Regions from separate parts of the Homo sapiens genome. Here region 2 is linked to region 1. Evidence: promoter capture Hi-C in human tissues and cell types (Jung and others, 2019). All regions are on one chromosome and are shown on one strand. Each heading gives the region's core, a stretch centred on a gene start or on the middle of the fragment in contact. The rest is flanking DNA. Distances are from core to core; before and after follow the strand shown. Region 1 holds the start of JTB (jumping translocation breakpoint). Region 2 overlaps NUP210L (nucleoporin 210 like).

The links. The method cuts DNA at HindIII sites, captures the fragments that hold promoters and counts their contacts. A contact is called where the count stands out against the background at its distance.
Region 2: a fragment that was not itself captured here is called in contact with the fragment with the promoter of JTB in region 1 in 1 of the 25 tissues and cell types used here (thymus).

What each region holds. Positions count from the first base shown.
Region 1 is chr1:153,974,461-153,980,300 of GRCh38, forward strand. It overlaps JTB (jumping translocation breakpoint), which reads right to left and starts at 3,214. Exons shown (of 5, transcript NM_006694.4): 1 at 2,710-3,214; 2 at 2,516-2,553; 3 at 2,233-2,315; 4 at 1,366-1,445; 5 at 1-375. The coding sequence starts at 2,792. The coding sequence ends at 219. It overlaps JTB-DT (JTB divergent transcript), which reads left to right and starts at 3,283. Exons shown (of 1, transcript NR_186180.1): 1 at 3,283-4,700. RefSeq lists enhancers at 1,386-2,035, 2,685-3,333, 3,335-3,384 and silencers at 3,055-3,104, 3,393-3,687. The HindIII fragment of the contact is 6,167 bases long and covers 1-5,141 here.
Region 2 is chr1:154,023,166-154,029,005 of GRCh38, forward strand. NUP210L (nucleoporin 210 like) reads right to left here. Exons shown (of 40, transcript NM_207308.3): 29 at 4,341-4,432; 30 at 2,377-2,551; 31 at 1-132. Among named protein-coding and RNA genes, the nearest start is that of RPS27, 35 kb to the left of the region's middle. The HindIII fragment of the contact is 5,326 bases long and covers 188-5,513 here.

The DNA of each region.
Region 1 (5,840 bases), core at 1,964-4,463:
TTCCCTCTCTGCCCCCATGACTTCCTGCTCCAAGTTACAGAAGGGAAGGAAACCATTTTACTCTTTTTATTCTGCTCATTAATGATCTGAAAGAAGAAGATGGGGAAAAGGGGATTCCACCACAAGGCTCCAAAGAACCAAGAGTGCAAATCAGTCCATTTCACTTTCACTGTCTGAGATAGGGTCTCTAAGACCCAGGATACAAGGGTGGAATGTAGCTATATGGACTCGATTTGCTTCCGGACCTTTTCCAGAGCCTTTCTGTCCAATTGTCGCTGACGAATGATGACAAGACAAGCGAAGATCAGGGCCACACACACGACAGCCCCTTCGAACTTCCAAAATAAGCGTTGTTCCATCAAAGCTGAGCGGCAGCTGAGGGCAGGAAGGAATAGTTATTCCCAAGGAAGGCCAGACAGCTTCTCCCTCTAATTTCCCTTCTACTTCAGCCTAGCCAGGATACACTCAAGAGGAAATCAGAGCCAGGCTTCTATTGTGTGTATAGTACATAAATCCCTCTCAAATAGATCATTTAATTTATTCTCTGGATAAGCAGAGCTAGTATTAACCAATTTTACTGATGAGAAAATATGGCCAATAACATAGTGCTGAGGAGTAGAGCTGGGACTTGGGTTCAAGTAATTTGGCTCCAAATCCCGTCTTCTTTCTTATTATTTTTGAGATGGTGTCTCGCTCTGTCACCCAGACTGGAGTGCAGTGGCGTGACCTTGGCTCACTGCAACCTCCACCTCCCGGGTTTAAGCAGTTTTCTGCTTCAGCCTCCCAAGTAGCTGGGATTACAGGTGCCCGCCATCATGCCCAGCTAATTTTTGTATCTTTAAGAGAGATGAGGTTTCACCATCTTGGCCAGGCTGGTCTTGAACTCCTAACCTCGTGATCCACCCGCCTCGGCCTCCCAAAGTGCTGGGATTACAGGCGTGAGCCACCCCTCCCAGCCTCTTTTTTTTTTTTTTTTTTTTGACACACAGTCTCGCTCCATTGCCCAGGCTGGAGTGCAGTGGCATGATCTTGGCTCACTCTAACCTCTGCCTCCTGGGTTCAAGTGATTCTCCCTGCCTCAGCCTCCCAAGTAGCTGGGATTATGGGCACCCACCACACCAGCTAATTTTTGTATTTTTAGTAGAGATGGGGTTTCACCACGTTGGCCAGGCTGATCTCGAACTCCTGACCTCAGGTGATCTGTTAGCCTCAGCCTCCCTAAGTACTGGGATTATAGGTGTGAGCCCGGCCCCCTCTTCTTTCAGATATTCCATGCTACCCCCAGACCAGGGGAAAAGGTGGGACCATCCATCTAAAGTCATAGGAGCAAAGGAGGTGATCTCAGAGAAGAGAAACAGCACTCACCTTTTGAACTCATTTCTCTTAGATGAGCTGCATGTGATTTTCTCTACATATCCTGTGGGACCACACTCAGGGGTAGTTTTCTGCCAGGAGAAAAGGAGCAAAGTACATGTTAGGAAGGGGCAACAGGATAAACAAAAAGGCTGCCATTCAGAAGGTGCAGGTGCCCAACTGCTATGGTTTGGAGTGGTAGGCAACAGAGAGCTAATGAAAGAGTTCTGATGCGGATGGTGGAGGTGGTGGTTGCATGATTACGAATGTATGTTAGAACACTTCAGGGGCAACAGTCTAGGAGTGGCAAAGATACATTCCATTCCAGAGCCTACTATACTAAAAGTGAATAAAACATAGTTATTTGAGGCCGGGTGTGGCGGCTCACGCCTATAATCCCAGCACTTTGGGAGGCCGAGGCGGGCAGATCACGAGGTAAGGAGTTAGAGACTAGCCTGGCCAACACAGTGAAACCCGAGTCTACTAAAAATACAAAAATTAGCCAGGCATGGTGCAACGCGCCTTTAGTCACAGCTACTCAGGAGGCTGAGGCAGGAGAATCGCTTGAACCCGGGAGGCGGAGGTTGTGGTGAGCCGAGATCTCGCCACTGCACTCCAGCCTGGGCAACAGAGTGAGACTCCGTCTCAAAAACAAACAAAAAAACCATAGTTATCAGTTGAATACTGCCATTAGCTTGGAAAGAAAGGGGCACATTTTCAGGGGAAAGACAAGTACAGATTTGGACATACACTGAGACTGCAAGAAGAAAGAAAAAAAGATGATGCAAAGGCAGCTTAATAAGACTTGGATGTTAAGATGTTGCTTAAGTGTTTGCTTAGATGTTTAAAAAAAAAAAGGGTAGAGAAATAGATACTCACAGCCCGGAAATTAGAGCATGGAGAGCACTCTTCTGCTACCACAAACTCTTCCACCAGCCAGCATGGCAAATTTGAGGTGCTTGCTGAAAGGAAAGATAAATGCCAGCCCCAGGCCATTCAGAAAACATTTCTCCCAGGCTCTGCCCATCCAACTTCCCGGCACAGCGCTTGCCCTCATTCCATGTGGTGCCGGCCTTTTCCACCTGTGCTCTTGGTATATGGGGAAGATACTAAAACCAAAAACAAACGACGGGACGTGTCGGGTTCCCAGACAATCACCCACCTGACAGCTTCTCTTCCTGCACGGGAGCCTCTGCTTGGCTGTAGCGGAGTTGGGGGAAGGGACAAAAGTCAAAACCCAGAAAATAGGGCACCCCCTCCTGCGCTGTCCATGGATAAGATCTCCCCCAGCCCCGAGGCCGGGAACGATCCTGTCCTCCAGTGACCTCCTTTTCCCTCCCCTTACCTCCTCCTTACCAGAGCTTTAAGGTGAAAGCACAGAGCAACCAGCAGAGGTGGCGGCCCTGGGGGAGGCCAGGCCTCCCGGCACCCGCAAGCATGGAGCGCCAAGTGTCGCACCTGTCGGAACAGAGGGACCTACTCCACAGGCCTCGTGCCTCCGTCGGAGCGCAGAGGCGGCACTTACTCTGCAGCCCTCCCAGAGGTTCCAGGTCAGGGCAGGGAAGGCCGGAGTTGCCTATTGGAGCAGAGGATCTATCAGGACGTCCCCGTTGCCACAGCGAGAAAAATCGATATGTTTTTGCGGGCTAGGGAGGCGAGCGCCTTCTGCGGGGTCCGCAGGGCGCTGGAGGAAGGGCCGGCGGGGGCTCGCGGCCCTAGCGCCCGCTCACCTCCGCTCCCGCCCCCGACGCAGCCATCTAGCCCCGTGGAGGATCCTCGGGCGCGGGACCGAGCTCGGGGCCCGGTGTTCCCGGGGGCGTTCGGTCGTCGCCCGCTGGGGCTTATAGTCTTCCGCGTCGGTGGCGCCTCGCCTGCTGCTCACTGGGAATTAGCTCGGCGCCCCGTTGCATTGTGGTCTTGGTAGTCTTTGCGAGAACGGCAAATGGCGGTTGCAGAGGCTCGTCCGAATTCTCGGCTCGCTGCTCCCTGGCTGGCGCGTGTTTGTTCATTCTGGGCTAGGTGAGCAGGGACAATACGTCGCCCTCTCAGGACTTTGCTCTCTCCTTAAAACCCGAGGATTCACCGTCAAGCTTCTGGTTTCTCTGACATCCTTCCCCAGCCGCCCCTTCATCGCCACCGATGATCCAGTGGAGAAGCTGTGTTGGAGGTCAAGGGATGGAGGCGAAACTGCGCGTTCTCGTCCCTGCAGAAACCGGAATATCCGAGACACATGACGAACATGAAACTTTCTCCTTGTCTCTTGGCTCCCACTCCGCTACACAGATGAACGGTGTTACCTTCCCTCATGTTACTTTGCTAAGCCTACTCCTCAGAGCTGGTCCTTTGCATAACCTCTTCAAATGCTCTCAACTCTCCCTTGCTCCTACATAATGGAGTAATCATAAGTGCAATGAGAAAAGCATGAGATTTGAAGTTCCATAAGTATTGAGTCTAGGTTCTGGTGGTTATTAACTCCATGATCTTAGGAAAGTATCTGTCAGTGTTCTGTGTAAAACGGAAATGCTAATGTGTATTTACCAGGACTTTTTCTTGCGAGAGGCAGATGAAATGTATCTCCGTTTCATGAGTAAGTTCAGAGAATATAAGTGACTTGTCCAAGGTCAGCAAGCTAATGAGTGGGAAAGCTGAGGCTTGAGCCTAGACTGTCAACACCCAGGCCAAAGATTCATTGCCTGCTTTTCATCTTATGGAGTTAAACCTTGATACACACTCAGATCTGCAGTGACTTGACCAGCACTGTGGGTTCATGCTTTACTGTCTGATAACGAATTTTCATTTAATTTTATTTTTTTTCTTAGACAGGGTCTAGCTCTGTCACCTAAACCTGATGAGGGCTGAGCCTTCATTTCGCCGTTTTTTGTTTGTTTGTTTTTGTTTTTGAACGAGATGGACTCTGGCTATGTTGCCAGACTGGAGTGCAGTGGCAAGTCACAGGAGCCATCATAGCGCATTACAGCCTGGAACTTCTCGTCTTCAGGGATCCTCCCAAGTAGCTGGGATTTCAGGCATGTGCCACCATACCTGGCTCTAATTTTGAATTTGTTTCTTTAAATTATTATTTGTGTTTGCTGAAATTGTGTGTGTATTATTTTTGTGTATGTGTGTGAGTAGTTATATGTTACATAAAGTAGGTTGTGGGGTTTTTTCCAGTAATGTTTAGCTATAATTGAAGTTTGGGCCGAAATCTGCTAGTATTTGTTACTCCTCACCAAATCCTACCTTATCTCACAACAAACTGTAAGATCTTGTGATATTTCACTTCCAATAACCTTACCAGGCATCAGAGTGGGGTCTCTACTCTGAAATTAAATATCTGCCATAAGGTATGTTGAAGACGTTAGTCTCTTTCCCAGGAGGCACAAAGTGCAAGTCTTTTCCTCATCGCTTGAGCAAATTAAACCTACCGGACAGTTTACTACAGAACTCAAACACAGCTGGGCGCAGTGGCTCACGCCTGTAATCCCAGCAATTTGGGAGGCCGAGGTGGGCGGATCACCTGAGGTCGGGAGTTCAAGACCAGCCTGACCAACATGGAGAAACCCCGTCTCCACTAAAAATACAGAATTAGCTGGGCATGGTGCCATATGCCTGTAATCCCAGGTACTCGTGAGGCTGAGGCAGGAGAATCACTTGAACCCGGGAGGTAGAGGTTGCGGTGAGCCGAGATCACACCATTGTACTCCAGCCTGGGCAACAAGAGCAAGAATTCATCTCAAAAGAAAAAAAAAAGAACTTAAGCATAAGCCACAAATAAGGTTTATCATTACCTCATCAATGCTTGGATACTTACATTTATCAAGTTATTACATTTTGCTGTGTAAAAAATATTATGTATGGTGAAAGGGGGATATATATATATTATGTATTAAAATATGTATTATATATTATATATTAAACATAATATAATTATATATAATTATATATTAAACATAATATATTATATATTAAATATATAATTATAATATATATTTAATATATATGTATAATATATAATTATATATTATATATAATATGTTATATGTTTATAAACATATACATGTTATATATATTATATATTTCCTATATATTTAATATATAATATATATAATTATACATTGTAATATATAATATAATATAATATATATATACTTAAGGATGCTGTGCATCAAGCCTGAATTTTTTTTTTTTTTTTGAGATGGAGTTTCGCTCTGTCTCCAGGCTGGAGTGTAATGGTGCGAACTCTGCTCACAGTAACCTCTGCCTCCTAGGTTCAAGCGATTCTCCTCCCTCAGCCTCCCAAGTAGCTGGTATTACAGGCACCCACCACCATGCCCAGCTAATTTTTTTTGTATTTTTAGTAGAGATGGGGTTTCGCCATGTTGGCCAGGCTGGTCTCAAACTCCCAACCTGAAGTGATCCACCCACCTCGGCCTCCCAAAGTGCTGGGACTACAGGCATGAAACAACGTGCTCGGCCCAAGCCTGAAT
Region 2 (5,840 bases), core at 1,601-4,100, 48 kb after region 1:
CTCTCCGATACTATTATAAAACTGAACAGTGAAGGTAAGAGACATGCCCAAGGGAAATGCTGACAGGGTCCTTCCTTGGGCTGTGTATAGCTTGGGTTGGCTGCTCACTCGCAGGTATGTCACCGGTGCTACCTGTGGGAGACAAAACCTACTGGTACAGAGAAAGATGCACTGGAGAAGTGCTGCAACCATATTCTGAGACTTATAATCAATGATAAAGAGTGATGTTTCTTTTCCATAGGAAATAGCTTTTGATGTGAGATGACTTAAGTCAGAGTGAAAAGAAATATGACAGCATAGCAGCATAGGAAATTCTTTTCTTTTTTTTTTGAGACAGAATCTCACTCTGTCACCCAGGCTGGAGTGCAGCGGCATGATTTTGACTCACTGCAACCTCTGCCTCCTGCATTCAAGCAATTCTCCTACCTCAGCCTCCCAGGTAGCTGTGATTACAGGCATCTGCCACCACGCCTGGTTAATTTTTCTATTCTTAGTAGAGATGGGGTTTCACCATGTTGGCCAGGCTGGTCTCAAACTCCTGACCTCAAGTGATCTGCCCGCCTTGGCCTCCCAAAGTGTTGGAATTATAGGCGTGAGCCACTGTGCCCGGCTTGAAATGGGTTTTTAATTTTTTTTTTTTTGAGACGGAATTTTGCTGTCTCGCCCAGGCTGGAGTGCAGTGGTGCAATCTCAACTTACTGCAACCTCCGCCTCCTGGGTTCAAGCAATTCTCTGCCTCAGCCTCCTGAGTAGCTGAGATTACAGGCGCCCGCCACAATGCCCGGCTAATTTTTTTGTATTTTTAGTAGAGATGGGGGTTTCACCATCTTGGCCAGGTTGGTCTTGAACTCCTGACCTCGTGATCCACCCGGCTCGGCCTCCCAAAGTGCTGGGATTGGCGTGAGCCACTGTGCCCAGCCAGGTTTTTAATTTTTAAAGCTGTGGGAATGTGAAGAGAAGCTGGAGCTTTATGAGGAAAGGACTATAATTCATCCATTTCATGCAGAGTGCTCAATATTTATGGTTAAATAATCAATTACTTATCAGGAACACAATCTATATTGTGTTTTCACACTGTAAGAGAGCTGTGATACAGTAAGTGAAGCCCGCGTTTGAATCATAGCTTTATCATTTCATAGCCTCATGTAACTTTTCTGGGTCTCAGGTTTCTTATCAGTTAACAGTTAGATGGGGATAATAATGCCTACCTCATAGGGCTTTTGTGGTAGTTAAAAGAGATAATATACATACAATGACGAACATAGTATATAGTAGATGTTTAATGTCTAAAATTTTTTTTCGTGTTAAGACTAACTTATCTCTGAGGTCTTTTCTCAATTTTTTAATTCTTGTAGCAAAGCTTAATTTTTTAAAAAGAAACAGATTGTTGCTTTGTTTTCCAGGCTGCAGTGCAGCAGTTCAATTGCAGCACAAAGCAGCCTCGAACTCCTAGGTTCGTGTGATCCTCCACCTCAGCCTCCCAAGCAGCTAGGACTGCAGACATGTGCCACCAAGCCCGGCTATTTTTTTTTTTTTTTCATTTTTTGTAGAGATAGGGGTCTCATTATGTTGCTCAGGCTGGTCTTAAACTCTTGGCCTCAAGTGATTCTCCTGCCTCAGCCTTCCAAAGTGCTGGGCTTACAGGCGTGAGTCACCCAGCCCAGCCAATTTTGATAGCAATCATTCTACACTCCTCCGATACCAGTCCTTTTGCCAAAGCTGCTAGGAAGACAATCATATAAATTTAGGCTGATCTGTTTTTTTTTTTTTTTTTTTTTTTTTGAGATGGAGTCTTGCTGTCGCCCAGGTTGGAGTGCAGTGGCGTGATCTTGGCTCACTGCAGGCTCCGCCCCCCGGGGTTCACGGCATTCTCCTGCCTCAGCCTCCTGAGTAGCTGGGACTACAGGCGCCCGCCACCTCGCCCAGCTAATTTTTTGTATTTTTAGTAGAGAAGGGGTTTCACCGTGTTAGCCAGGATGGTCTCGATCTCCTGACCTCGTGATCCGCCTGCCTCAGCCTCCCAAAGTGCTGGGATTACAGGCGTGAGCCACCGTGCCCGGCCAGGCTGATCTGTTTTATAACAAGGGCTCTAAAGTTCATTTTAATTTTATGGCTTATAACCATGTCAAGACTGGCCTCTTATAGGTTCATTTCTGACTCCCAGAGAGTTTCTTCTTCTTCTTCTTCTCCTTTTTTTTTTTTTTTTTCTGGTTCATGTTCTCTCATGATACAGAAGTTTCTAATTCTTTTCTTTTTCTTTTTTTCTTTAATGGCATGATAAGAAAATTTCTAGTTTTTTAAAAAAGAAACTCTGCTTTTTAAGGCCAGGGTATGACTTTTATTTATTTGTTTTTTTTAGTAAGTCCATGAACTCACCTGGACCCCAGTTATGGTTGTTTGGTTGACTCCAAAAGGTTCTATAGAAGTGACTTCCAATACAGCAGTACCTGCAATGGAACCAGCTTTCAGGAGCCCTTCACCATCCTCCTCAATGACGGATGAATTAGGGAAACACTTGAGAACACGAGAACTCACGAAGGCAGCTCCTTCCCTAGGGAACAAGGAAAGGAAGTGGCATCTTTTTGGGGTCCTGTCTGACCAGAGAGAAAAGAGTAAAAATTTCCAGGATTACTGTTAGGGGATGTACTCGAGAAAACTGCTTGCCATTCTCCACGTGTGTAATTATTTGTTCCTCAGGTAAAAGTCTGCCTTTGGATTATGCTTATTTCTTTAAAATCAAATCTTATTACATATTTATAATTAAAGAATTATTTAGGCCGGGTGTGGTGGCTCATGTCTGTAATCCCAGCACTGTGGGAGGCCAAGGCGGGAGGATCACCTGAGGTCAGGAGTTCAAGACCAGCTTGGCCAACATGGTGAAACCCCGTCTTTACTAAAAATACAAAAAAAAAAAAAATTTTTAGCTGGGCATGATGGCGGGTGCCTGTAATCCCAGCTTCTCGGGAGGCTGAGGCAGGAGAATGGCTTGAACCTGGGAGGCTGAGGTTGCAGTGAGCCGAGATGACACCATTTGCACTGCAGCCTGGGGGACAAGAGCAAAACTCCGTTTCAAAAAAATAATTATTCAGCCAAAACAATTGAAAGCAGGTATTCAGGTAAATACTTGCAAATGAATATTCATAGCAGCACTATTCACAATAGCCAAAAGGTGAAAACAACCCAAATTTCTTTTCTTTTTTGAGACGGAGTTTCGCTTTTGTTGCCCAGGCTGGAGTTCAATGGCGTGATCTTGGCTCACTGCAGCCTCCGCCTCCCGGGTTCAAGTGATTCCCCTGCCTCAGCCTCCTGAGTAGCTGGGATTACAGGCATGTGCAACCACCCCTGGCTAATTTAGTATTTTTAGTAGAGTTGGGGTTTCTCCATGTTGATCAGACTGGTCTCGAACTCCCAACCTCAGGTGATCCACCTGCATTGGCCTCCCAGAGGCCTGGGATTACAGGCATGAGCCACTGTGCCCAGCCCCAAATTTCTATTAGGAGATGAAATTATAAACTAAATGTGGTATTTCCATATAATGGAATACTATTCAGTCATAAAAAGGAAGAAGTACTGATACATGCTACAACATGGATGAACCTCAAAAACATTATGCTAACTTAAAGAAGCCAACACAAGGCTGGGCGTGGTGGCTCACACCTATAATCCCAGCACTTTGGGAGGCCGAGCCGGGAGGATCGCCTGAGGTCAGGAGTTCAAGACCAGCCTGGCCAACATGGTGAAACCCCATCTCTACTAAAAATACAAAAATTAGCCAGGTGTGGTGGCAGGCACCTGTAATCCCAGCTACTCAGGAGGCTGAGGCAGGAGAATTGCCTGAACCTGGGAGGTGGAGGTTGCAGTGAGCTGAGATTGTGCCACTGTGCGCTGGCCTGGGCAACAGAGCGAGACTGTCTCAAAAAAAAAAAAAAAACAAAAAAAAAAAAACAAAAAACACAAAACGTTGCATACTGTATGATTCCATTTATATGAAATACATTCAGGATAGCTAATACCGTACACAGAAAGCAGATTAGTGATTGCCAGGGGCTGCGAGGAGGAAAGAAAGAAGAGTGACTGCTTCACAGGTATGGGATCTCCTTTGGTGGTGATAAAAATATTTGGAACTAGATAGAGATGCTGAATACACAATATTGTGAATGTACTAAATGCCACTGAATTTTACACTTTACAATAGTTTTACATTATGGGAATTTCACCTCACACAAAAAATTATTTGGGAAAAATCTCCTAGAAGGCAAAAGTGTTCTTTCTATGTCAATGTTTTACTGAAAATACTTAAGCTTAGATCCTGGCACTTCCTTATTCTCCCTTTTCCTTACCTGTTGGTATGGAGTTTGAGCTGAGAATTTATAGGCATCAGAATCTGCTCTGGTTGGCACTCTGGATAGAAGAGTTGGAGTTTTTCAAACACCTATAATGAGAAAATGTTTTCCTCATTTTTGGCAAAGACAAATTATGACTTTTACTTACATATAGACTTCAGTATAATCCCGAAGAGATTACATGCAAATAAATGACAACTACGAATCAACAGTCTGCCTAACTTCTAATTAGTCTAAAATCGTCCACAATACTCCTCTCCAAAATGAACCAGGCACTCAAAACGTAACTAGATATTCTAGAAGATATAACCTAATGTTAGCCCTGTTTCTGACTCTGAGGGACTCAGCATGTAGCAAAGTTTACACTTACCACATCTTCCATATTGCTTAGATATTAGGTATAAAAATACTTTGAAATTTCTAATTTTGGCTCTGGTAAAATGACATGAAGTTTGGGGAAAAGAACTTATAATATTAAATTAGCATGAAATAACATCCAGGTCTTCCACCTTCTAGTAAAGTGCTCCTTCCTCTACTTCACATGGAATCAGAGAACCAAAGCCAAAATAAAGGAAAAAATAAAACAGGAAAAGAAAAAAAAAGTCTCAAAATCAGAGGCAGTGAAACTTACTCGACCCATATAAGTGATAATTTGTTTTTTGAATTCTAAAAACAACAGAGCCATTTAGCTTTTAGCCCAAGAATATCTGTAGAAACTATTCATACTCTTACACCTTATCAAAAGTTAGAATTATGTTTTATCCTAACTGTGAATATATTTAAATGGACTTATATCGGCTGGACGCGGTGGCTCATACCTGTAATCCCAGCACTTTGGGAGACCAAGACGGGCAGATTACCTGAGGTTAGGAGTTTGAGACCAGCCTGGTCAACATAACGAAACTCCATCTCTACTAAAAATACAAAAAGTAGCCAGGCATGGTGGCGCATGCCTGTAATCTCAGGTACTCAGGAGGCTGAGGCAGGAGAATCACTTGTACTTGGGAGGTGGAGGTTGCAGTGAGGCGAGATCATGCTACTGCACTCCAGCCTAAGCAACAGAGTGAAACTCTGTCTCAAAATAAATAAATAATTAAATAAAAATTGTTAATGGACTTATAATATCTATGTCAGGTGGAGTGGATCAGAAATGAATCCCTCTCTAGTTACTATGGTGTTCATATCCTGTGTTCCTGATATGGGGAGTTGAAGGGAGTGTGTGTGCTACAGTTTCTTTTCTTTTTTTTTCCAGACTACTCACCTGCAAGTACTAATAGTTTCTAATGTTAATAGTATATAAAAGCAGCCGGGCGTGGTAGCTCACGTCTGTAATCCTAGCACTTTGGGAGGCCAAGGCGGGTGGATCACTTGAGGTTAGGAGTTTGAGACCAGCCTGGACAACGTGGCGAAACCCCGTCTCTACTAAAAATACAAAAATTAGCCGGGCATGGTGGTGCACGCCTGTAATCCCAGCTACTCGGGAGGCTGAGGCAGGGA